Linked DNA regions of Homo sapiens: all the other regions are linked to region 4. Evidence: promoter capture Hi-C in 16 types of primary human blood cells and fetal thymus (Javierre and others, 2016). All regions are on one chromosome and are shown on one strand. Each heading gives the region's core, a stretch centred on a gene start or on the middle of the fragment in contact. The rest is flanking DNA. Distances are from core to core; before and after follow the strand shown. Region 1 overlaps TBC1D2 (TBC1 domain family member 2). Region 2 holds the start of FOXE1 (forkhead box E1). Region 3 overlaps TBC1D2 (TBC1 domain family member 2). Region 4 holds the start of NANS (N-acetylneuraminate synthase).

The links. Contacts are between HindIII fragments. The CHiCAGO score rates a contact against its expected background, and 5 or more counts as called.
Region 1: a fragment that was not itself captured here is called in contact with the fragment with the promoter of NANS in region 4 in 9 of 17 cell types (total CD4 T cells, non-activated CD4 T cells, activated CD4 T cells and 6 more); the score reaches 14.2 in total CD4 T cells.
Region 2: the fragment with the promoter of FOXE1 here is called in contact with the fragment with the promoter of NANS in region 4 in 3 of 17 cell types (monocytes, neutrophils and naive CD4 T cells); the score reaches 6.3 in monocytes.
Region 3: a contact is called between a fragment that was not itself captured here and the fragment with the promoter of NANS in region 4, in 9 of 17 cell types (total CD4 T cells, naive CD8 T cells, non-activated CD4 T cells and 6 more). The highest score is 12.6, in total CD4 T cells.

Annotation. Positions count from the first base shown.
Region 1 is chr9:98,212,150-98,217,892 of GRCh38, reverse strand. TBC1D2 (TBC1 domain family member 2) reads left to right here. Exons shown (of 13, transcript NM_001267571.2): 7 at 4,675-4,785. Among named protein-coding and RNA genes, the nearest start is that of MIR6854, 14 kb to the left of the region's middle. The HindIII fragment of the contact is 416 bases long and covers 4,174-4,589 here.
Region 2 is chr9:97,850,014-97,855,637 of GRCh38, reverse strand. FOXE1 (forkhead box E1) reads right to left here and starts at 2,412. Exons shown (of 1, transcript NM_004473.4): 1 at 1-2,412. The coding sequence starts at 1,723. The coding sequence ends at 602. It overlaps PTCSC2 (papillary thyroid carcinoma susceptibility candidate 2), which reads left to right and starts at 2,558. Exons shown (of 11, transcript NR_147055.1): 1 at 2,558-2,722. RefSeq lists an enhancer at 3,444-3,945. The HindIII fragment of the contact is 6,931 bases long and covers 1-4,344 here.
Region 3 is chr9:98,232,318-98,238,697 of GRCh38, reverse strand. TBC1D2 (TBC1 domain family member 2) reads left to right here. Exons shown (of 13, transcript NM_001267571.2): 4 at 5,149-5,282. It also overlaps the pseudogene LOC100131625. Among named protein-coding and RNA genes, the nearest start is that of MIR6854, 6.3 kb to the right of the region's middle. The HindIII fragment of the contact is 3,205 bases long and covers 1,707-4,911 here.
Region 4 is chr9:98,053,449-98,059,277 of GRCh38, reverse strand. NANS (N-acetylneuraminate synthase) reads right to left here and starts at 2,546. Exons shown (of 6, transcript NM_018946.4): 1 at 2,338-2,546. The coding sequence starts at 2,469. It also overlaps a transcript of TRIM14 not described here. RefSeq lists enhancers at 1,828-1,947, 2,988-3,037 and silencers at 2,198-2,367, 2,448-2,797. The HindIII fragment of the contact is 20,554 bases long and covers 1-5,142 here.

The sequences.
Region 1 (5,743 bases), core at 3,132-5,631, 160 kb before region 4:
AAATAAAATAAATTCACTAGGTATGAAGGCACCCGCCATAGTCCTAGCTACTCAGAAGGCTGAGGTGGGAGATTACTTGAGCCGCCCAGGAGTTCGAGGCTGTGGTGAACTGTGATCACGCCACTGCACTCCAGCCTGGACAACAGAGTAAGACACTGTCTCTATTAAAAAAAAAATAAAAAAGAGAAAGAGTTGCATGTAGTTGGTGTTCCTTAGTTTTTAGCTTTTAGAATACCCATCAAATATCCATTGTCTTGAGTTTGAGGACAGAGAATGTTGAGGTTTCCTGCCTGCCCTGTGATTGAGGAACCCAACTTTAGGGAATGCCCCTTGTTATTCAGACTTTGGTTTTGAGAACAGGATCACTGACCTCTTGAATATCAGATCTGGAAAGACTCAGAAATCTAGTCTGCCCCACTCATTTTCTGGCAGGGACAGCTGAGCTGGGGCAAGGGAGAAGGACTGGCCCAGGGTCAGGCAGCAAGAGGCAGGGCTACAGCCGGAACCTGGCCTCCCATGCCCAGGCCACTGCCTTCCACACAGCACAGGGCCTAGTCCATGGGCATGGCCCAAAGAGAATTCCCGGGCTCCTGCTTCCCTGGTCCCCCTTCTCCAGGGTTTTCCTTCTTTCATTCCACTGGTGACTGTCCTGTGGCTTTTCTCTTTTCTGAGGTTTCTCTTTTTCCTCCCTACAGTTCTGAGCCAAGACGAGCACTCAAGGTAGGGCATCGAGCTGGAGGGGGAGGTACTGCCCGACGCCACCCACTGCCACTGCTGTTCCAGGCTGTGCTCACTCTGCCTCCCTGTCCGGCATGTCTGTGCCTTCCCTAGAGCTGGAAGCAGGGTATCTTATGTGACAAAAGCCTTCTTTCCAAAGCCTTAGAAATAACAGTGTGTAGCCAAGCGTGGTGGCTCACAATCCAGTGCTTTGAGAGGCCACGGTTGGAGGATTGCATGAGGCCAGGAGTTTGAGACCAGCCTAGGCAACATAATGAGACCTTTTTAAAAAATTAAAAATTAATTAGCTGGGTGTAGTGGCACACACTTGTAGTCCCAACTACTCAGGGGCCTGAGACAGGAGGATCACTTGAGCCCAGGAGGTCAAGAGTGCAGTGAGCTATGATCATGCCATTGCATTCCAGCCTGGGTGACAAAGTGAGACCCTTTCTCTAAAAATAAAAAAAGAAAGAAAAATAAATAAATATCCATGAGCACATCTAGGCCTGGGAGGAGGAAGGGGTGATATCAAGGAGGGAGACCCAGTGGTGTGGAGCAGTGGCCAGCGCCAGAGCTGGGTCTGCTTTCTCTACGCAGTGTCTGCTGAGCACCTGCCATGGGCTGAACACACCTGGGTTTGGATCCTGGCTCTCTTTCGTGACAAGGGGAACTTACTTTCTCTGTGTGTGTTTCCTCATCTGTTAAATGGGAATTAGGGCACTTTAATAGTTATCCCACAGCCTTGTGGATATGAGGGAGATGGGTCAGGTCATGGTAGGTCCTTTCCTCCCTTGCGGGGGGGCTTGTTGTATTTTCCCGGGCATTGGATTCCGAACTCTGTGAGCCGACTGAGGGGGTGGGTGCAGGGTGGGGAATAGTAGCTCTCGAGCTGTCATGCAAACTCAGTGAGGGAGACGATGCTCACGCTCACGTTGCACTTGCCACATGCCAGGCACCGTTCTGAGCCTTTTGCACATATTAACTCACTGAATCCTCTCCCAGCCACATGAGGTAGTACTGTTATTATCCTCATTTTCCAGATGAGAGGATGAGGTTAAGTAACTTGTCCAGGGGCTCAGTGGTCAAGACAGAATTTCCACCCAGACAGCGTGCCCGCAGCATTCATGCCACTGACCACCAGGCGGTGCCGGTACATGGCCAACTCCAGCGTCTTTGATGTGTTGTTATACTGTCTGATGGGTAGGAGAGGTCACATAAGCCTGCATGCGTGTAGCCAGGAGACACCAAAGGACAACGCTTGGAGGGTAGGGACTAGAGTGTGGGCATCCAGGTGGATTCCAGCTGGTGGGGAGCTCAGATGGTGCCCGGCAGGAAGTTTGGTGATTAGGGCTTTAGAATGAGACAGTCCTGGCCAGGCACAGTGGCTCATGCCTGTAATCCTAACACTTTAGGAGGCCGAGGTGGAAGGATTGCTTGAGGCCAGGAGTTTGAAAACAGCCTGGGAAACATAGTGAGACCTCGTCTCTACAAAATCAAAAAATTAGCTAGGCATGGTGGTGCCTGCCTATAGTCCCAGCTACTTGACAGGCTGAGGTGGGAGGATTGCTTGAGTCCAGGAGGTCGAGGCTGCCATGAGCTATGATCACGCCACTGTACTCCAGCTTGGGCGACAGAGCAAGACAAACAAACAAAAAGAATCAGACAGACCTGGGTTTGGTCACATCTGCCTTATACTGGCTGTGCCTTAGGCAAGTTGCCTACCCTTTCAGAGCCTCTGAGGCCTCATCTGTGTCATAGGAATAATAAAAGAACATCCCTTCTAGGGTTGCTAGGAGGATGAAGTGAGAGAATATATGCTGCGTGGTGTTGGTGATGGGGGTGATGCCGGAAGCCTGCACAGCCTCTGTATTCATAAGTTTCTATATCTCCAGACAGTAAAGTGTTAGACTCCAGAGAGAGTGGGGAGTGGTCCAGGAAAGGCCTGATGCTCATGGGAGACTGGTCCCTGTGCCACAAACAAGATTTTCACTTCTTGCCACATAAGGATAGGATATGGGGACTGTGGAGAAGAAGCAGGCAGAAACTTGCCAGCAGAGCGGCTGGCGCACACAGCAGCATTTTTGAGAGGCAGTGAAGCTGGTTTTTTATCTAGGTCAGGGACAGGATTGGATAGGGGGAGGAGGGTGGCGCCAGGGGTTGGAACTGCCTGGGTCCAGCCAGAAGGCAGAGAGCAAGCTGAGTGGATGCACAGCCTTTCAGCCTTGGCACAGCGAGGGAGATGAAAGCAGGGGTGGCCTGGGTTGGGGCACCACAGAGAGCCCCCGTGGAGTGGTGAGGGGTGATGTGATAAAGTCAACAGGGGGCATTCGTTCCCTCCCCTGGGAGCAGAGGCCCTTCTAGTGTGTCAGGCTCTGGGCGGAGGGCAGCAGCCCCTGGGCAGGCATCGGAGCTTCCAGCCTGGGGAGACCTTGGAGATCATCTTGGCCAGAGTGAAGACCCACCCAGGGAGGGCCAGGACCACCTGTGGGCTGTGCACATGTGACCCTGACGAGGATGTGCCCCAAACTACATGTGATGTTCTTCATTTCCAAATCAATCTGGCCACGTCGGAGTCATCCTTGCTGCAGCATCGCTTGCACATGTGATGTTCTTCATTTCCAAATCAACCTGGCCACGTCGGAGTCATCCTTGCTGCAGCATCGCTTGCACATGTGATGTTCTTCATTTCCAAATCAACCTGGCCACGTCGGAGTCATCCTTGCTGCAGCATCGCTTGCACATGTGATGTTCTTCATTTCCAAATCAACCTGGCCACGTCGGAGTCATCCTTGCTGCAGCATCGCTTGCACATGTGATGTTCTTCATTTCCAAATCAACCTGGCCACGTCGGAGTCATCCTTGCTGCAGCATCGCTTGCACATGTGATGTTCTTCATTTCCAAATCAATCTGGCCACGTCGGAGTCATCCTTGCTGCAGCATCGCTTGCACATGTGATGTTCTTCATTTCCAAATCAACCTGGCCATGTCGGAGTCATCCTTGCTGCAGCATCGCTTGCACTCACCTCCAGCCCATACATCAATGGGAGAGAAAGGGCCTGAGTTTCAGCCAGTAAATACCCTGGAATTGTGAGGTATAGCTCTAAGAATGTGTTACGTGACTGAACGGCTTCTGTAATGTCCATCCCAGCAGAATTGAGAGCCACTGCTATAGCTGATCCTTCTCTGAGGCTCAGGTCCTTGCTTGAACCTTCCCAGTGCTTGTCTGGCTTCTCCTTGTATGCCCCAGCAGCAGGGAGCTCATTCCCTCCACTGGATGGGCAACTTGCAAAAGGAAAACTCAGAGATGTTTATCACAGCATTATTCATAATCAAAAACCAACTGCAAACACCCCAGGTTCAAATTAAAAAATGACAGGAAAAGGATTATGAGTAAGTTCTGGTAAATTCACCCAATAGAATCATCACCAGAGGTTAAAAATGATCACTGGGAAGCTTATGTAGCAACATTGAAAGGTTTTACAAAGTGACACTGAGTTAATTTTACAGTATGATTGTAAATATATGATAAAATATGTTGATTTTAAAAACAAACACTACTTGAGCACTTGCTATGTTTTGGTCCCTGTACTTAGTGTTGTCACACATTATCTCACTTAGTTTCCCAACTGCCCAGTAGGTTAGTTGGTATTTGCCCCTTTTACAGATGAGGAAACAGAGGGTCAGAGTGGTTCAGTGGCCTGCCTGAGGCCTTCCAGCCAGAACATCAGCCAGGACTTAAATTCAGACCTACTGGTCCCTTTACCACATCATGCTGACATCAAGAATAGAGAAGGGTGCTATGAGTATTTTATTTTTCTTTCAGACTTCCTCTTCTGTTGCCATTATTGGAAATTTCTAAGGAAAAGAAGCTTTGGGGGCTCATTTGAGGGTGTGACTCCCCAGGACCAGGGAGATGTTTATGTCCAACTGATAACATATTTTACTCTCTTCTCCAGGATGACATGGAAGCTTACCGGACCCAGAACTGCTTCCTCAACTCCGAGATCCACCAGGTCACAAAGATCTGGAGAAAGGTGGCTGAGAAGGAGAAGGCCCTTCTGACGAAGGTGCGGGGTGGGGCCCTATTCCAGCCGTCTCCATCCCTGGCCCCTCTGCTGGTCCCCATGCTGCCCACTCCGTCTCACTCTCCTCATTTCCTGTCTGCCCCTCTCCCTCTGAACTGACCCCTTGTGAGCAGGGCCCATATCAGGTTCTTCTCCAGACCCCTGTGGTCGGGGGATTGAGTCATTTGTTCCGCAGCGTTCACTGAGTAGCTGTGGGGTAGGGACATCAAGACCAATAAGGCTGGTTCCTGCCTACAAGGAGGGTATAGACTAGTGAGGGAGTGTAACCCAATCAAGATGTACTTGGGGCCAGGCGTGGTGGCTCACACCTGTAATCCCAGCACTTTAGGAGGCCGAGGCGGGTGGATCACAAGGTCAGGAGATTGAGACCATCCTGGCCAACACGGTGAAACCCCATCTCTACTAAATATACAAAAAAAAATTAGCCGGGCATGGTGGCGGGCGCCTGCAGTCCCGGCCACCCGGGAGGCTGAGGCAGGAGAATGGCGTGAACCTGGGAGGCGGAGCTTGCAGTGAGCCGAGATTGCGCCACTGCACTCCAGCCTGGGCAACAGAGCAAGACTCTGTCTCAAAAAAAAAAAAAGATGCACTTGGACTTGTGGGATTCTTGGGGGCCCAAAGGGAGGAAGGAAAGTCAGGGAGGGCTTCCTGGAGGAGGTACCTTCTGAATTGAGTCCTAAGGATGAGTTAATGTTATCCAGGCAAGCAGTGGAGAAGGACCTTCCAGGAAAAGAGACAGCATAGTAAAGACGTGTGGTCTGAGAGGTGGGGGGCAGGGCTAGGGAGAGTGAGACATGAGGCTGGAGTTGAGGAGTTTGGAATTTACTCCAAGGAAACTGGGGAGCTGAAGGATTCTGAGTGGAGAAGTCCTCAATCAGACTTCTGTTCCTGTTCCAAGAAGACTGCTGTGACTGCTCAGGAGGGTGGGCTTGAGAAGGTG
Region 2 (5,624 bases), core at 1,163-3,662, 200 kb after region 4:
CTGACGCACAGTTCAACTCGGAGCTAGGTCTCAAGTTCTCAGAGACAGGGAAAACCAGCCCAGGTCAACCAGAGCAGAGATTTCTCCAATTTAAAAAAGAAGAAAAGCCTATTTCTTTTGCAAATTTGTCCTCCTCACTTTAAGAAGAAAGGCGCTGCCGCAGCCTTTTATTGTAGTAACGCAGTTAAAGGCACTAGAGGACGAACCGCGTAAAAAGGCCCGAGTTCCGGCAGCACATGGAAGGCTGAAACTGATTCCCCACAATTTGGATCCTGGTCTCTGGTGTTGACACTACGCTGCCCTCTGGTTACCGCCAAGGACCCTCCCCGATAGAATACCAGAAAGCATCCCGTTTGAGGGCTTCGCTCCATCGAGGGTCCCTGTGCCAGTCCAAGGGCTCTGGCTGCCTCGCCCCACCTCCTCCCGTTTACAGAGTACACCGGGTGCCTACGCTGTGCGCGGGGAGACCGAGCCTCTGTGGCCTGCTCGGTCTTTTCCACGTGGGTCCCAGTTGAGTCCTCTCTCCATTCCTGTTCGTTCTCAGATTGCGGGGAACGTGTGAACAGCCGATGTGTCTATGAGTTTTCGTCCCTACGCTGGCTCACATGGCGGACACGAACCGATCTATCCCACCGGGATAAGCGGCAGCATGGCGAGCATGGTAGGCGCCTGCACTGGCCCCTCCGAGCTGCCCGCCAGGGTTGTAGCAGGCTCCCAGCGCTCCGAACTGGCCGGGCGACGTGCGCCCGTAGAAGTCCACCGTGGTCTCCACGCCGCCACTGCTGCCGCCCGCTGGGGGCGAAGCGGGTCCCGCCAGGCGGCCAGCAGCGGCAAAGATCGCACTGCCGGCGCCCTGCGGGTACGCGCCGTCGGGGCCCGCGTAGGCAGCCGCATAGGCGGAGGGGTTGGCCGGCCGGGCCCCGGTGCAGCCTGCGGGCTGGTAGCCGGTGGTGGTAGCGGGGGCGCCGGCGGAGGCAAAGGCGCAAGAGCCGCCGGGCCCCGACGGTGCGGGCCCCAGCTCTGGGCTGAGCGGCCGCTCAGGAACCAGGCCGAAGACGCGGCAAGGGCCGGGCGACGCCGCGGGGTAGTAGACTGGAGGCGGCGCGGCCAGCGACGGCGGCGCGTAGCCTGCATAGACGGCGCCCGGGTAGGGGGGGCGCGCGGCGGGCACCGCGCCTGGGAAGATGGCGGCGGCGGCGGCGGCGGCGGCGGCGGCGGCTGCGGCAGCCGCCGCGTCGTGCATGTAAGCCGGGTAGGTGGAGAGGTCCGAGCGCTTGAAGCGCTTGCGGCGGCGCAGGAAGCTGCCGCTCTCGAACATGTCCTCCGCGTTGGGGTCAAGCGCCCAGTAGTTGCCCTTACCCGGGCGGCCGGCCTCGCGCGGGATCTTGAGGAAGCAGTCGTTGAGTGTGAGGTTGTGGCGGATGCTGTTCTGCCACTTTTTGGGGTTGTCGCGGTAGAAGGGGAAGCGCTCGGTGATGAACTTGTAGATGCCGCCCAGCGTGAGGCGGCGCTCGGGCGCGTGCGCGATGGCCATGGCGATGAGCGCGATGTAGCTGTAGGGCGGCTTCCCGCGCTGCAGGGGGCGCTTGCGGCGCCGCCCGCCCGCCCCGCGGCCCGTGGCCTCCCCTGGGACCCCGGCCCCTGCTGCCGTCTCGCCGCGCTCTTCCTTCACGGTAGCCAGCACCTCCGGCTGCGGCGGCGGCGGCCCGCTCTCGGCAGTCATGGCGCGGGCGTCCCGCACCCCCGGGCTCTGGATCCCCGCGGCTGTCGGGGGGCGGGGGCGGGCCTGGCGTCCCCGGAACGGACGCTCGGCCCTTCTGCGGAGAGCTCAGGGGATCGTCGCGGGCTGGCCCCGAGAGCCCAGCGGCCCAGGCTGGCACGCGCTGGAGGCTCAGCGTCCGTGGTCTGGGGCTGGCGCGGTGCAGACAGAGGCTCGGGAGTGACCCGCTAGCCGACGGCTCAGCCCGCGTGGTGCTTCTCGAGGCGGGCAGCGGCGGTGGCCTCGTGACCGGGACTGGACTCTGGTCTCCGGCTGAAGGGTCCCTTGCGCGCTGGTGCCGGGCGGTCGAGGGGTCCGGAAGTGATCCCTGGGTTGGGGTGGCTGCAGCTGGTCTGTGGTGCCCGCTAGTTTAGGATTACTGCCTAGGTTGTGCGCGCAGAAGAGGCTTCGGGCTCGAAGGCCAGAGCGAGGGCAGTTAGTACTGGCGCTGGGCGATCTGGCGGGGGCCGCCCATGCCCTGCCCCCGAGGCCAAGGTGGCCGTAAGCGCCACGGGCAGAGAGGCGAGGCGGGGGCAGCGAGGTCGGGGCGCGGGCCCAGGCGGGGCGACCTGAGGCTGGTCCTCTCCACGGCGTGGGTCTCCAGCCCTGCGGACCGCTGGCGAGGCGCTCCCCTGCACACACCGGACCGGCTCCTCCCTCCGCCGGCTTCCCCTCCTTAAAGGGGCCACGAAGCGTGGGGCGGCACCGGTTCCCTGCCCGCCCCCCGACTGCCCGCCCCCCGGGGCCCGGGCGCACCTCCCCAGGTAGGAGCAGCTGTGGCGGCGCGGTAGGAGCCCCACAGCGTCAGGGCGGGGAGGGCGCTTGGAGATCCCCCGGGTCGGCCCCCTCCGCACCCCGATCGACTGAGGCCCGGAGAGTTCAGGAACCGGCTCGGGAGACCTCAGCGCCCGAACTCGGAGTTTTCGGACTTTTCAGGCCTCTGCCAAGGGCTTGGACTCGCAGGTGAAAGGACGGGCTCATCTCACTTTTTTGTCCTGAGAGGGTGAGAATTGGCCGAGAGGGCGCTTGGTTTTTGTGGGAATGGGGAGGGAGAAGTTCCAGGAGACTGGCTCCCCGGGCCTTTCAGGATGGTTTCCAAACCCCAATCGTGGCTGCCACAGCCACTCGGCACTCCAGTCCCCCCATCTTTCGAATGAGTATTCCTAGGCCCGAAAGGGAAGGTGACTTGCCATGGCCCCACTGCGGCTTCTCCGCTTAGCGGAGTCTCCAACCTGCGTCTCCTTTAGGACTGCGCTTCCCAACTGTGTGGTAGAGGTAGCCGCTTTCCCTTTTTGGGCCCCAGGTCCCTCGACTGTACCGGGGTCTGGATCTCTCAAGAGTCCTTGCGTGGTAGATATTTAGGGATAGGCCAATCACCACCCCCAATCATCCGTCTTTGAGAGGCCCAGGATCTGTCTCTATTTGATGGATAGTGGTGCACGGATTAAAGACGACGCAGGATAGGTAACCTCCTCCTCCAATCCCCCGGGACCAGGGTAGCTCTGAAGACCCCCAGAGGCAGCCAAGCAGCCCCTTCCCGCAGCGGGGAGTGAGGGCTGCGGGTAATGGGGGAGTGGGAAGAGAGCGGTGGCCGGGTGGGCGCGTCTCCGGGGGAAGGGGCGGGCAGTCGGGACACGTTTGCTTCATGGGTGTCCAATTTCTGAGTTCCTTTCCTGCTGTCCCTGAGCCGGAACTTGGTCCTAACCTGAGATCCTCGCGGCGCGGCCCCTCTGGCCCGGGTTCGTTCCCTGGCCATTCACTGGGAGATCCAGGGCCTGTCCTTGTCCCCTCGCAGGGCCTCAGTGTTCTACTCTGTTAAATAGCAGCTGGAGGGCGTGTGCTGATCTCCGAGGCCCCTGCTACGTATAGGATTCCGGGCCTTGGCGCGGGTTCCAGTGGCTCCAGCCCGGACGCAGCTTTCCGGGGTGGGGGGGGGGGGCGGGCCGGGGCTGTGGGTGCAGAGCCGCGCGGATGGTGGTGCCAGGTGAGTGTGGGAGATCCCAAGACGAGAGTTCTGGCCAGTAACGGGTGGCATGCCTTCCAGGGTTTTAGTCGCGTTCTTCGTGGCGGTGAGCTGAGGGCAGGCTAAGCCCGGCCAAGCGTTGGGCAGCTGCCTTCGGAAGAGCGAGGCAAAGCCCAGATCCTTGCTCCGTCGACCCGGTGTGTGGAAACGCTCAAAGCGTTTGCTTGACAACCTTCTGCGGCAGAGGGTTGGTCGAACGAAGGGAGAGGGGCTTTACACTCGCTAAACAAAACTCCTGGTTTCCTTCTTCCCAAGTAATGGAGAAGCAAAAAACCCAGATTTCGTCCTGTTTCGTTTTTACAAAGGAGGAAAAACTTCAAATTTTAAAATTTTTAACTGGATTATATTATAGGCACCTTTTAATACGGGATTTCGTGGCTCTCAGTAACTTTCAAGATTCTGAGATTCAGATATCTAGATTTTAAATTCTGGACGACCGTTGTCCTAACGTGATTCCATAAATCTAAAGAATGCGATCCTGCGATCCTGCGACCCTGTAATTCTAAGATTCCAAGACTGGGAGTCTAACTTTGACTATGCTTATATTCCTTTGACTTAAGCTTCTAGTCAAAGTCTAAAAACCTATGTATTAAGATACTGGGACTAAACCAGGCACGGTGGCGGGAGCCTGTAGTCCCAGCTACTGGAGGTTAAGGCAGGAAGATCGCTTGAGCCCAGGAGTTCCAGGCTGTAGTGCACAATCATTGTGCCTGTGAGTAGCCACAGCACTCCAGCCTGTGCAGCAAAGGGAGACCCGGTCTCTTAAAAGCAAAACAAAACAAACAAAAAACGGGGACCTAAGATTTTGTGCCTGAAAATATGATGCCACTCTTGAAGCTGCCACTTCTCCAGTTTTTTATTTTTTCCACTCTAAGTTATATATTATTTAATTTGAATTCCTGTTTAGGAATGTCTGATTGGAAGAATTTGAATCCTGTAAATCCGCAGTTCTCTCCTTCCTTAATTCTAAAATGTTAGTGCTGGATCTGCTATTCTGTAGTTCAAATAATCTGATTCCAATAATTCTTCTAATGTTTGTGATTATATGCTGTAATGATTAGTCCCATGACTTTATGATCCTCTACTTTTAAGCTGCAACGACTATGGCTAAAAGCCTTCTTGTCTCAGGATTTTCTGTTCTTCAGTGTCTTGTGTCTGTGACCTCATTCTTCTAGAATTCTGATGGTTTTCTCAAACTTTGTTAATATCAAGCTACTCCTGTGGCCGAGACCAAATACCTAGCATCATGAGATTAGAATTTCCAAGATCATGATTCTAAGATTTTCGCAAACCAAGGACCCCTAAATTTCTATTTCATAAATGTTCTCTTTGAATAATGCATTTGAAGATTCTGTGAGTCCACAGTGAGTTCACATTAAATGATTTGGTGAGTACACAGGTCACAAGTTTACCCGTTTGGATCAAAACCATACACAAAAATCTCCTCGGGGCATTTCCTATCTCTTCCCATTGCTTCCTTCTCAGTTTCTTGAGAAGGAACATGGTCATGGCCAAGTCCTCCCCTCTTCTCTGCCACAGTGCTCCTTAACGTTTATGAATCATCTGGAAGTTAGGAAGGGCAGGTTCCAGACCCTTGGAAATCATTCTCCCAATCCAGCAGGGGTGGGTTGGTGTTGATGTGGGCAGGCCAGTGATTTCTGCTTCCCACTGATCTTCAGCCCTTCAAGTATTCCCAGCACCCCTGGAGAAGCCAGCCTGCAGCAGGCCATTTTATGTGCATAGGGGGCTGGAGGTGCTATTGGGAATCTTTAGAAGATGTTCTTCTGCAACAGCTGCTTTCCTCAGTTTTGAATGGGCGACTTTGTAAATAAAAACGAGAGG
Region 3 (6,380 bases), core at 2,060-4,559, 180 kb before region 4:
GGGAATCAATGAAAAATGCAAAGCTAACATACTTAATGGTAAAAGACTGAATATTTTCCCCTTAAAATCAGGAATATTCAACATTGTTCTGGAGGCTTTAGCCAGGCCAATTAGGCAAGAACATGAAATTAGGCATCCAGATTGGGAAGGAAAAAAGTAAAACTATCTTTATTTGCAGTTGACATGATATTTGTTTACAGAAAATCCTAAGGAAAAACTATTAGAGCTAAGAAATTAGTTCAGCAAGGTTGCAGGATTCAAGATCAATATAGAAATATCAGTTGTATTTCTATACACCTGTAATAAACAACCCAAAAATAAAATTAAGAAAACATTCCATAACAATATTAGAAAAAGAATTAAATATTTAGGAATGAATTTGACATAATGATGCAAAATGTGTGCTCTGAAAACACCAAACATTGTTGAAAAAAAGGGCTTAAGTAGCTGGAAAGATATCTCATGTTCATGAATCAAAAGACTTAATATTGCTAGGCTGAGCGCAGGGGCTCACGCCTGTAATCCCAACACTTTAGGAGGCCAAGGTGGGCAGATCACTTGAGGTCAGGAGTTCAAGACCAGCCTAGCTAACATGGTAAAATCCCGTCTCTACTAAAAATACAAAAATTAGCTGGGCATGGTAGCACATTCCTGTAATCCTAGCTACTTGGGAGGCTGAGGCAGGAGAATCGCTTGAACCCGGGAGGCAGAGACTGCAGTGAGCCATGATTGTGCCACTGCACTCCAGCCTGGGCAACAGAGTGAGACTCTGTCTCAAAAAAAAAAAAGAAAAAAAAGAAAAAAAAAAGACTTAATATTGTTAACCTATTAATCTGACAATACTTCCCAAATTGATCTACAGATTCAATATAATCACCATCAAAATTCTGGTGGCTTCCTTACAGAAATTAACAAGTTAAACCTAAAATTCAAGATCCTGGAAATTCAAGAGCCCCAGAGTACCCAAAATAATCTTGAAGAATAAAAAAAGTTTGCCCCGTCTCTACTAAAAATACAAAAAAAATTAGCCGGGCATGGTGGTGCACGCCTGTAATCCCAGCTACTCAGGAGGCTGAGGCAGGAGAATCGCTTGAATCTGGGAGGTGGAGGTTGCAGTGAGCCGAGATCGTGCCACTGCACTCCAGCCTGGGCGACAGAGCAAGACTCTATCTCAAAAAAAAAAAGAAAAAAAAAGTTTGAAGACGCACTCTTCCCAATATCAACACTACTACAAAGCTATAGTAATCCAGACAGTGGTGCTGTTGCAAGGTGCACTAAGTGGGGTGCACTCTGATATTTTCTTTCTTTTTTTTCAGCAAAGCCTGACTTTCTTTTTTTTCTTTTTTTTTTTTTGAGACAGTCTTGCTCTGTCACCCAGACTAGAGTGCAGTGGCGCAATCTCCACTCACTGCAACCTCTGCCTTCCCAGTTCAAGTGACATTCAGCAACTCTCCTGCCTCAGCCTCCCGAGAAGCTGGGATTACAGGCATGAGCCACTACGCCTGGTTAACTTTGGTATTTTTAGTAAAGACGGAGTTTCACTATGTTGGCCAGGCTGGTCTCGAGCTCCTGGCCTCAAGCAATCCACTCGCCTTGACCTCCCAAGGTGCTGAGATTACAGGCGTGAGCCACTGCACCCGGCCAAAGTCTGACATTCTTAACAGATTTTATTATCTTAACTGGCATGCTTTAAATTCATAAAAGCTTTGGAGAAATAATCAATTCCCAACCCCATGAAAAGTATTTTGAATGAGGAAAAAAAAAAAAAATGGAAGTAATGATCTACACAGATACAAAGCATGCCTTAGTTCCTCCCATATCCCCAACTGCTATTTTGTGATAAAGAATTCTCAGAAAGCAGTGTTTTTAATACTCATCAAGTAGAATCTCACCAGTGTAAAGAACCAACAACATTGATCTGGTGCCTCCGCTCACTCTTTGCAGACCATTTTTGGATTCCTAAGGTGTAATTATACATTTCACATACATTTGTGAGATAAGATAAACATTATGTTTATATCCCACATGAGCCAGGCTTAAAGGTTTTCTAAAAACTGTGTGTGGCACTAGAAACTTCATGCTGTATCAAGTCAGTATCAGTATCAAGCTACTGGACTCTATAATGAAATGTTATAGATAAACATTTACTGAAAACCAATATAAAAATCTGGCCCAGACCAGGCACGGTGGCTCATGCCTGTAATCCCAGAACTTTGGGAAGCCAAGGCGGGTGGATCACCTGAAGTCAGGAGTTTGAGACCAGCCTGACCAAAACGGCAAAACCCTGTCTCTACTAAAAATACAAAATTAGCTGTGTGTGGTGGTGGGCACCTATAATCCCAGCTACTCGGCAGGCTGAGGCAGGAGAATCGCTTGAGCCTGGGAGGTGGAGGTTGCAGTGAGCCGAGATCGTGCCATTGCACTCCAGCCTGGGTGACAGAGTGAGACTCCATCTCAAACAACAACAACAAAAATCTGGCCCAGAAAGACCAGGATGGAAATATGCAATCTTCTTGAGTTAAGATGGTCAATTGTTTTTTTTTAATAAATAAAATTTTAAAAAGCTCTATACAGTTTAAGACAAGTATGTGTAAGATATGTGTATGTTTTGTATGTGCTGACTTGATCATGACAACTCCCTGATTTTTTTTTTTCCTCTTTTGAGATGGAGTCTCACTCTGTCACCCAGGCTGGAGTACAGGTGGCGCTTTCTCGGCTCACTGCAAGCTCCACCTCCCAGGTTCATGCCATTCTCCTGCCTCAGCCTCCCAAGTAGCCGGGATTACAGGTGCCCGCCACCACACATGGCTAATTTTTTTGTATTTTAGGTAGAGACAGGGTTTCACCGTGTTAGCCAGGATGGTCTCGAACTCCTGACCTCGTGATCTGCCCACCTCAGCCTCCCAAAGTGCTGGGATTACAGGCGTGAGCCACCGTGCCCAGCCGACAACTTGCTGATTCTTATGAAGGATTAGGGATACACATCTTCAGCAATGCACATGAGAAATAAACTCTGAAAAAGACAATTTATTGGGGTTAGGAAGGACCGTATTTTGGGAAGTGCTTTAGAGAAACAGACAATAATTCTAGGATTATAGCTGAGAAGGATTGGAAGACTTCAGGAGATGCTTCAGCTTCTAGATTTTGAATGTCGAATAAATCATTGAAGTGTGATACCTACATTATCCTTTTCTTTGCAAAAAATTGAATAGTAGCACATTTCTTTATCCTGAATAGCAGACATTCATTTTTTCAATTAGCTGTTTCTCATCCAAGGCATTAGAAAGATCTCTCTCTTGCTTCCAAGTACTAGCACTGGAATTCCTTGTAACTGTGGTTTATCTAGATTACGTAGCTCATTTCTCAAGGCCTCTATCTTCTCACGATCTGCACCATCTGTTATGTAAACAATAGCGTTGACTCCTAAGCAATATAGTTCCTACATGCTCCGAAATTGGGGTTGTCCTCCTATGTCCCAGATCTTTTTTTTTTTTGAAATGGAGTCTCGCTCTGTCGTCCAGGCTGGAGGTGCAGTGGCGTAATCTCAGCTCACTGCAACCTCCGCCTCCCGGGTTCAAGCGATTCTCTGCCTCAGCCTCCCGAGTAGCTGGGACTACAGGCATGCGCCACCACGCCCGGCTAATTTTTGTATTTTTAGTAGAGACGGGGTTTCACCATCCTGGCCAGGCTGGTCTTGAACTCCTGACCTCGTGAGCCACCCACCTCAGCCTCCCAAAGTGCTGGGATTACAGGCGTGAGCCACCGTGCCCAGCCATATCCCAGATCTTTACTGTGATGTTACCTTTAGTTACTTTCCTCGTGTCGAAGCTCACTGTGGGTATCATGTTTTCACTAAATTGACCTGACGCAGTGATATTCACAAAGCTGGTCTTGGCCTAAGTCCTGTAGCCCCACAAGCGTCAGTTCTAGCTCCTGCTTCCAAAAGAGCAAATGGAACTAGTACAGCAGGCAGGAGATGTGCGCCGCATGACGACCACTGGGAGACAGGATGGATGGGAGGGTCGGCAAACAGAGGCAAGGATGACTTCCACACGAGCCAGCCTTGGTCTGGACCACCCAACAGCTCCTCAGGATTCCGATGCAACACAGGTGGATGCAGGCAGGTGGCAGCAGCCCTGATAGTTTCTATTTCATTTTTTAAATGCTGGTCATGACACTAAACTGATTTTACAATCTACCAATGAGTGGGAACTTTCAGTTCGAAATACACTGACCTAGTGAACTCCTTTCATCATTTTCCCTCCCTGTCATTAATCTTATCTCTTTGCAAGGGAAAATAAACTCCTTGAACTGTTTTTACATCCAGCTCATTATGAACTTCTCTGTGGTCTGTGATCTTAGGTCAGCCTTTGGTACTATCTAGTTCCCTTCTATAAACCAAACATGTATTGAGCCCGGTCTCTGGCATGTACAACCCAGTGTTGGGCACCAGCAAACATGCAGGTAGGTTAGTACCCGGTTCTTAAAGAAATGACATCATGAGGCTTCAGCCTAGACAAGTACTTGGCCAAAGGGTGACCCCGCTGCGAAGTACACTAAGCCCCTTGGAGGCCATGAGATGGTCAGTGAAGGCTGCACAGAGGACAGATCTGAGCAGGGAAAGAGAGCAAGCAGGGAAAGATGCCAGGAGATGTTTGCAACTTATCTCAGCAGAAGTCGGGAGCCACTGATGGTTTTTGAGCCAGATAGTTATGAAACCAGATGAAGGTTTCGGGAAAGTTGGTTCAGCAAGTCCATTCAGCATTCACTCAACACACCCATATTAAGCACCTTCTATGTTTTGGGCACCGTTTAGGCATTGTAGGTGCATCAGTTAACAAAACGGACAATACCTCCGCCTCATGGCATTTATATTCCAGCTGCAGGGGTGGGGGTTAAGGAAGTCAAGCTTGTATTACTTATAAGCCACATAGTGTGTGGAAGATGAGAATGCGAAAGAGATAGGTAAAGGAGATTGGGAGTGCCATGCATGGGGAGGCATCATGTAGGGTGCCTGGAGTCTGGGAGACCAGTCAGGATGACAGGGTGTGGGGATGAGACCTGAGCTCCAGCAGTGGTGGCGGGAAGGACAGAAGGGCAGAAAGGCAGGGTTCAGCCTCATGCTCCTCTGTTCTTGTCTCCTTTCAGGAACACAATGCACAACATCCGTGGCAACAAGCAGGCCCAGGGAACAGGCCATGAACCTCCAGGGGAAGATTCTCCACAGAGTGGGGAGCCTCAGAGGGAGGAGCAGCCCTTGGCCTCTGACGCCAGCACCCCAGGTGAGCCTCTGTCCAGGGCTGAGCTGCCTTCAGGGACCAGCTCCTCACGGCTGGCACAAGTGCCTTCTTTCCTTCCAGCGAACCAGCATTTGTGCTTTTGTGTGTGTCTTAGTTGGCTTGGGCTACTTACTGAAACACCATAGACTGCGTGGCTTAAATAACAGATACTTATTTCTCACAGTTGTGTGGAAGCTGGGAGGTCCAAGATCAAGGTGCCGGCAGATTCAATGTGTGGTGAGGGCTCCCTTCCTGGCTTGCAGATAGATGGCCACCTTCTCACTGTGTGTTCACGTGGCCGAAAGAGCTCTGGTCTCTGCTGCTTATTCTAAGGGTACTGATCTTATCAGGGGCTCCACCCTCATGACATTAAATCTGATCACCTCCCAAGGGCCCCACCTGTTAATACCACCACGCTACTAAAAATACAAAAGTTAGCTGGGCATGGTGGCCAGTGCCTACAATTCCAGCTACTCAGGAGGCTGAGGCAGGAGAACCACTTGAACCTGGGAGGCAGAGGTTGTAGTGAGTCGAGATTGCACCACAGCACTCCAGCCTGGGTGACAGAGTGAGACTCCGTCTCAAACAAAACCAAAAACAAATGTACACATGTGATAAAATGGCATAGACCTATACACACATATTGTACCAACACCAGTTTCCTAGAGTTGATAGTGTACTATAGCTATGTAAGATGTCACCATCAGGGGAAGCTTGGTGAAGAGTACTTGGGACATGTCTGCACTATCTTTGCAACTTCCTGTGAGTCTATAATTTTTTCAGAGTAAAAAATTAAGAAGAGGCTGGGCATGGTGGCTCACGCTTGTAATCCCAGCACTTTGGGAGGCCAAGGCTGGAGGATTGCTTGAGCCCAGGAGTTCAAGACAAGCCTGGGCAACACAGGGAGACCCTGTCTTTACAAAAAAATAAAAAAATTAGCTGATCATGGTGCAAGCCTGTAGTCCCAGCTACTTGGGATGCTCAGCTGGGAGGATCACTTGAGCCAGGGAGGTCGAGGCTGCAGTGAGCCGTGATCATGCATGGGTGACAGAGTGAGACACTGTCAAAAAAAAAAACAGAAAAAGAGAAAGAAGAAAAGAA
Region 4 (5,829 bases), core at 1,297-3,796:
GCCGAGGTGGGCAGATCACGAGGTCAGGAGATCGAGACCATCCTGGCTAACATGGTGAAACCCCGTCTCTACTAAAAATACAAAAAATTAGCTAGGTGTGGTGGTGGGCACCTGTAATCCCAGCTACTCGGGAGGCTGAGACAGGAGAACGGTGTGAACCCAGGAGGCGGAGCTTGCAGTAAGCCGAGATCACGCCACTGCACTCCAGCCTGGGTGACACAGCGAGACTCCGTCTTGAAAAAAAAAAATAAAAACTTCTTGGGTCCAGAAATGTCAGTGCTGAGATCACTACTCCTGCTCTTAGACAAATCATAAGATGGTAGAGTCAGGACTTGATGCTGGAAAGTTCAAAGAACATTAGAACTGAAAGTGACCTTGGGCAACAGAGCTCTCATTGTCTAGATGAAGATCCCAAGGCCCAGACTGACCTGACTAAAGTTGCACAGTGTCTCTAGCAGAGCTGGCCAGATCCCTTTCCTAAAGGCTGCAGCCACCTAGATTCCAGCTCAATGGAATTAGAGACAGGGTCTCGCTATGTGGCCCAGGCTGGTCTCGAATTCCTGAGCTCAAGCAATCTGCCTTCCTCAGCCTCCCAAAGTGATGGGATTACAGGAATCAGCCACTGCACCTGGTCAGTACAGCTTTGTTTCTATGGCTTCAGTATCTCTAGATATTTCTACAACTTCGGCATTCCAAGAGGAAAAACAGACTGCTCCTTCAAATTAAGAGTGGGAATTTCCCTCTAGAAAACAATGTTGCAGAAGAAAGGCTGGAGTCCTGTGGCTTAGGAGCAAAAACTGAAAAAACCCCTTACTGTATTTATTATACTAGCTATGTGACCTTGCCTAAGTCACTTATTTTCTCTTAGCCTTTAAAATGAAATCGGCAGCATCATGGCATTGGGTTGTTGTAAAAATTAAATGAGATGGTGCATGTACAGCATTTAGCTTAGTACCTGGTAGAGTAAGCACTCAAAAAATGTTAGCAATGTTATTTTTGTAAAGTATTTTTATGATTCAGTGATTAGGTTTCCATAAAACCAGTCCCGAAGGAACAGCAAGGGCCGAGGGTGGTGGCTCACACCTGTAATCCCAGCACTTTCGGAGGCCAAGGTGGGCAGATTGCTTGAGCTCAGGAGTTCGAGACCAGCCTGGGTAACATGGCCAAACCCCATCTCTACAAAAAAATTAGCCCAGCATGGTGGTTCACGCCTGTGGGTCCCAGCTACTCGGGAGGCTGAGGTGGGAGAATCACTTAAGCCTGGGAGGCAGAGGTTGCAGTGAGCCGGGATCATGCCACTGCACTCCAGCCTGGGTGATACAGAGACCCTGTCTCAAAAAAAAAAAAAAAAAAAACCAGGAAAAAAAAAAAAAAACAGTAAGAGAAAACCTCCAGCCTGGGTGACAGAGCAAGACCCTGTCTCTAACATAGATAAATAAATAAATAAACATTTAAAAAACCTATCACAAATGATACAAAATCAGTTGAGTAGCATTGATGAAGGGAAAGGAAAGATGGGGTGAGCTATCTCTAAACCAAAGAATCATAGTGCAGGCCAGGCCTTATGCTGGGGGCTGGGGTCGTAATGAAGAATATGGCAGTCCCAACAGAAGAGGGAGCACGCATTTACCGACTCATGTGTGCCAAGTGCTGGGCTCAGAGCTCTATCTGAGAATCTCATTTGATCCCCATAACAACTCCATGTGGAAAGAACTGTTGTTTTCAAGCCCCGTTTTCAAATGGGGAAAAGGGTTCACGGAGGCTAAGTAAGCAGCCCATGTTCACACAGCTAGTAGTGGTGGAACTGAGATTTGAACTCAAAGGCCCGGCTTTTAACCACTTCATATTTCATATACAGGGAATGGCGGGTGAGAGAGACCACAGCAACTTCCAGGAACTGTCATTCCTGAAAGTAACTCTGTGTCGCTGAAGAATGTCAGAGAAGAATTATGACGGGCTGGAAGGGGCCCAGTCATTAAAATCTTGAAGGCTATGTTAAAGGGTTTCGACTCTACCCGCGGGCAGGAGGGAGCCACAGAAGGTGCCAGGCAGGGGGGATGGTCTGATCAAGTCTGACTTTTAGAAAGATTATTCTGGCACCAGAACGGGGAGGAAACAGGTCGGGTTAGGAGGCAGCTGCTGTAATGCAGAAAGGTCACGAGGGTGGCGGACACGGTGAGGAAGAGGGATCCGAAGGATTCCGAAAACGGAACTGGCGGGCGGGAAGAGGCCGGACCAGGGTACCCAGCCGCGGAGGCCGTGTGGCCCTGGCTCCCCGCGGCCCCGCCCCGCCCCTCCCGGCGCCCGAATCCCGGGTCCCGGGAGCTGCCGCCTCACCTTGGCCATGCGGATCATGCGCTTGGCTACGTCCAGGTCGCCCTGGTGGTTCTGGCCGATCTCGGCAATGATGAAGCACGGGTGTTGCCCGCCCACCCAGCGCCCGGGACACAGCTCCAGCTCCAGCGGCATTGCAGCGGCTCGGGGTCCAAAGCCTCACTACCAGTCTGGGTCCGGCCGCCGCCGCCGCCGCCTCTACTCTGTTCTGTGAGCAACGCTGCGAGACCCACACGCCAGCCCCGCCACGTCAGCCCGCGGTCGCCGGGCAGCCAATCCCCTAGGCCCCGCCTCTCTCCCGACAGCCAATCGGGGCGGGGGGCGGGGGCGGGGCCTCCCGCGGGAAGGGCGGCGGGGCGGGTCGAGGAAGCTCCGCGGCCCTCTCCTGTGCGAGGCTTGAGGCTTGCTGTCCCAGAGCGTGGTCTCGGACCATCGCGGTATCCGTGCGTGCACCCAGGAGCAAGCATTCCCTGCAGGAGGCGGACGGCTGCCTGCGCAGGGCATAGTCTATGTCCTGCTCTCAGGAGCATGGGGAGAGCGCGCCCTATGGTGTAATGGAAAAAACAGGGTTGCTAGAGTTAGAATCACAGAGCTGGATCGAGTCCAGCCTATGCCAGTCACCAGCTCCTGCTCATATATACGTTACTCAGTCTTCCGGAGCGTTATTTTTGTTTCTCTCTGAAGCAAAAAAATAAAATAGAACTGTGAGATGACGTATAGAAACCCCTGATCACAATACTTGGCTTGTAGTAAGTTTTCAAGAAGTGGCGGAGGTTCCTATTATATGAGAGGCAACAGGTTCGAGAAGTTGCACTGGCTTGTCCAAAGCCATCCAGAAAGCCAAAGCAGAGATGGGACTAGTACCCGGACCTCCCAGCCCCAGGCTCTTAAAATACAATCACCTGGGCGGGCGCGGTGGCTCACACCTGTAATCCCAGCACTTTGGGAGGCCAAGGCAGGCAGATCACCTGAGGTCAGGAGTTCGAGACCAGCCTGACCAATATGGAGAAACCCCGTCTCTACTAAAAATACAAAAAAATTAGCCGGGCGTGGTGGTGCGTGCCTGTAATCCCAGCTACTCGAGAGGCTGAGGCAGGAGAATCGCTTGAACCCGGGAGGTGGAGGTTGCAGTGAGCCCAGATCACACCACTGCACTCCAGCCTGGTGACACTGCAAGACTCTGTCTCAAAAATAAATAAATTAATTAATTAATTTAAAAAATAAGATAAGTTATTTCCCAAAATAAACCTCCTTCTTTCCTGGGAACTAGACTGCCTTTGTAGGACTAACAAATTAGCCACAAGATTAGACACGTAGGAGTCATGCACCTGGAGGCTACAAGATTCTGACCCTCCCCAAATTGCTCCTGGGGATAACATCACTATTGTAAAACCTAAGACCAGTGCTTGAGATATTTTGCAGACCCTGCACTTGATGGATCAGCTGGCACCACCAGATTGATAAACTGGTTCATCTGATCTTGTGTCCCCCAACCAGGAACTGACTTGGCACAAGAAGACAGCCTTGACTTTCTATGATTTTATCTCCAACACAACCAATCAGCACTCCTGGCATACTGGCCTCTCTTAACCCACCACATTATCCTTAAAAACTCTGATCTCCAAGGTGGGGCATAGTGGCTCACACCTGTAATCCTAGCACTTTGGGAGGCTGAGGCGGGTGGATCACCTGAGGTCAGGAGTTCGAGACCAGCCTTGCCAACATGGTGAAACCCTGTCTCTACTAAAAATACAAAATGAGCCAGGTATGGTGGTGCATGCCTGTAATCCCAACTACTTGGGAGGCTGAGGTAGGAGAATCGCTTAAACCTGGGAGGCGGAGGTTGCAGTGAGCTGAGATTGTGCCATTGCACTCCAGCCTGGGCAACAAGAGCGAAACTCCATTTCAAAAACAAACAAACAAAAACCCCAAAAACCTCTGATCCCTGAATGCTAGGGGAAATTGATGTGAGTAATAATAAAACTCAGCCAGACTGCACAGCTGGCTCTGCATGAATTACTCTCTCTATTGCAATTCCCCTATTTTGATAAATCAGCTGTGTAGGTAGTGGGCATGGTGAACCAGTTGAGCAGTTAAAAATTTGGGGGCTCATTCGGGATTGCTCTTGTGCTACCTGCCCCGGTTCTGTAGACCCCCTCTGGCGATGGATCCAGAGGCCAGCCCAAGCGGCCACCTAGTTTTGGACTGGGGGCTGACTCTGGCGTCATCTCTATCGGCAGGGCACTACTAGCCCAATATGTATGGAGTACACTTTGCAATAGAGAAATTGTCCTGGGGAGATATCTCATAACTAGAGCTCCATGGCAAGGTGTCCCTCTGTAGCTCCACCATGGGGTGCCTGTAACTGTAACCTTATCACAGTGTCTGTTTGTAGCCCCATCATGGATTGTCTGCAGCTGCAGCCCCATTATGGGGTGTCTGATTTGGTGAGTAGTCTAGGTGCTGCCAACACCCCTTTCCTTCTCCCAATTGGTTCAGCTTCTTCAGGGGTCTCGGTTTACTCTCCCTAATTAGTAGGAAGAGTCTTGGTTCTGGAGACTTCTCCTCAATCAGTAAGATTTCGGGGAGACTTCTCAGATGGAGAATAGGATAGTTTGGAAGGAATACTCTTGGAATTCTTGGTTAGGGATCTTGGTTTGGAAGGCCTTCTGTCCGTCTTGTCTTTGTGTGTGTGTTTGTATATGTGGAGGGGATCTCTGAGGGAATTTCTGATGCAAGTCCAGCAGGCCTAACTCAGAAAACCCTCTGTAAGTATGGTCACATTCAGTGAGCTCTGAAAAAAAAGCTTAACAGGCCTGACTGTTAAGGGGTAACTCTCTGCTCTTTGTCTTGCCCAGAGACTACTCATTGATGCCATCCCTCCCCACCTTGAGTGGATCAAAGATGATAGGGACCAAAGGAAGACAGTTTGAGCCTTGCTAGGGTGATACTGGGTGCCCAATGAGGTGACTACTATCTGTTTTGTTATGTGTATTTTGCTTCAGCTGAGACGGAAAATGTTAATTCGGTTCTCCATGCAGCCCATCGGGCAGCATCTTACAAAGTTGAGAAGCTTTGCCTATGGTTCCATAAAACAGAAAAGGATGATATTTATTTATTTATTTATTTATTTATTTATTTTGTAGTGGGCTTGGCCCCCACAGCTATAGCATAGTGAACAGTTATCAAAGGCCGCTCCGTTCTTCTGGAAGCTGCAGAGAAAGGGAACCTGGAAACCTGGTATGCCGGCAAAAAGGGTAACAACTTATTAGCCAACTTTCTGGCCTGTATGTGTGTGTGTGTGTATGTTAAACATCACTGTCTCCTCTACAAAGGTCTGATTAATAGAAAAAAAGACTTATGAGACTAGTTTAGGCTATAGAAAATCTGGTGTACTTAGTGCTATGAATTTGTTTTTCTGTGTTGTTCTATAATGGAGGGGGCATCACAGGATAGAACATGGACTTAGGAGCCATATAAGCCAACTGTCCAAAG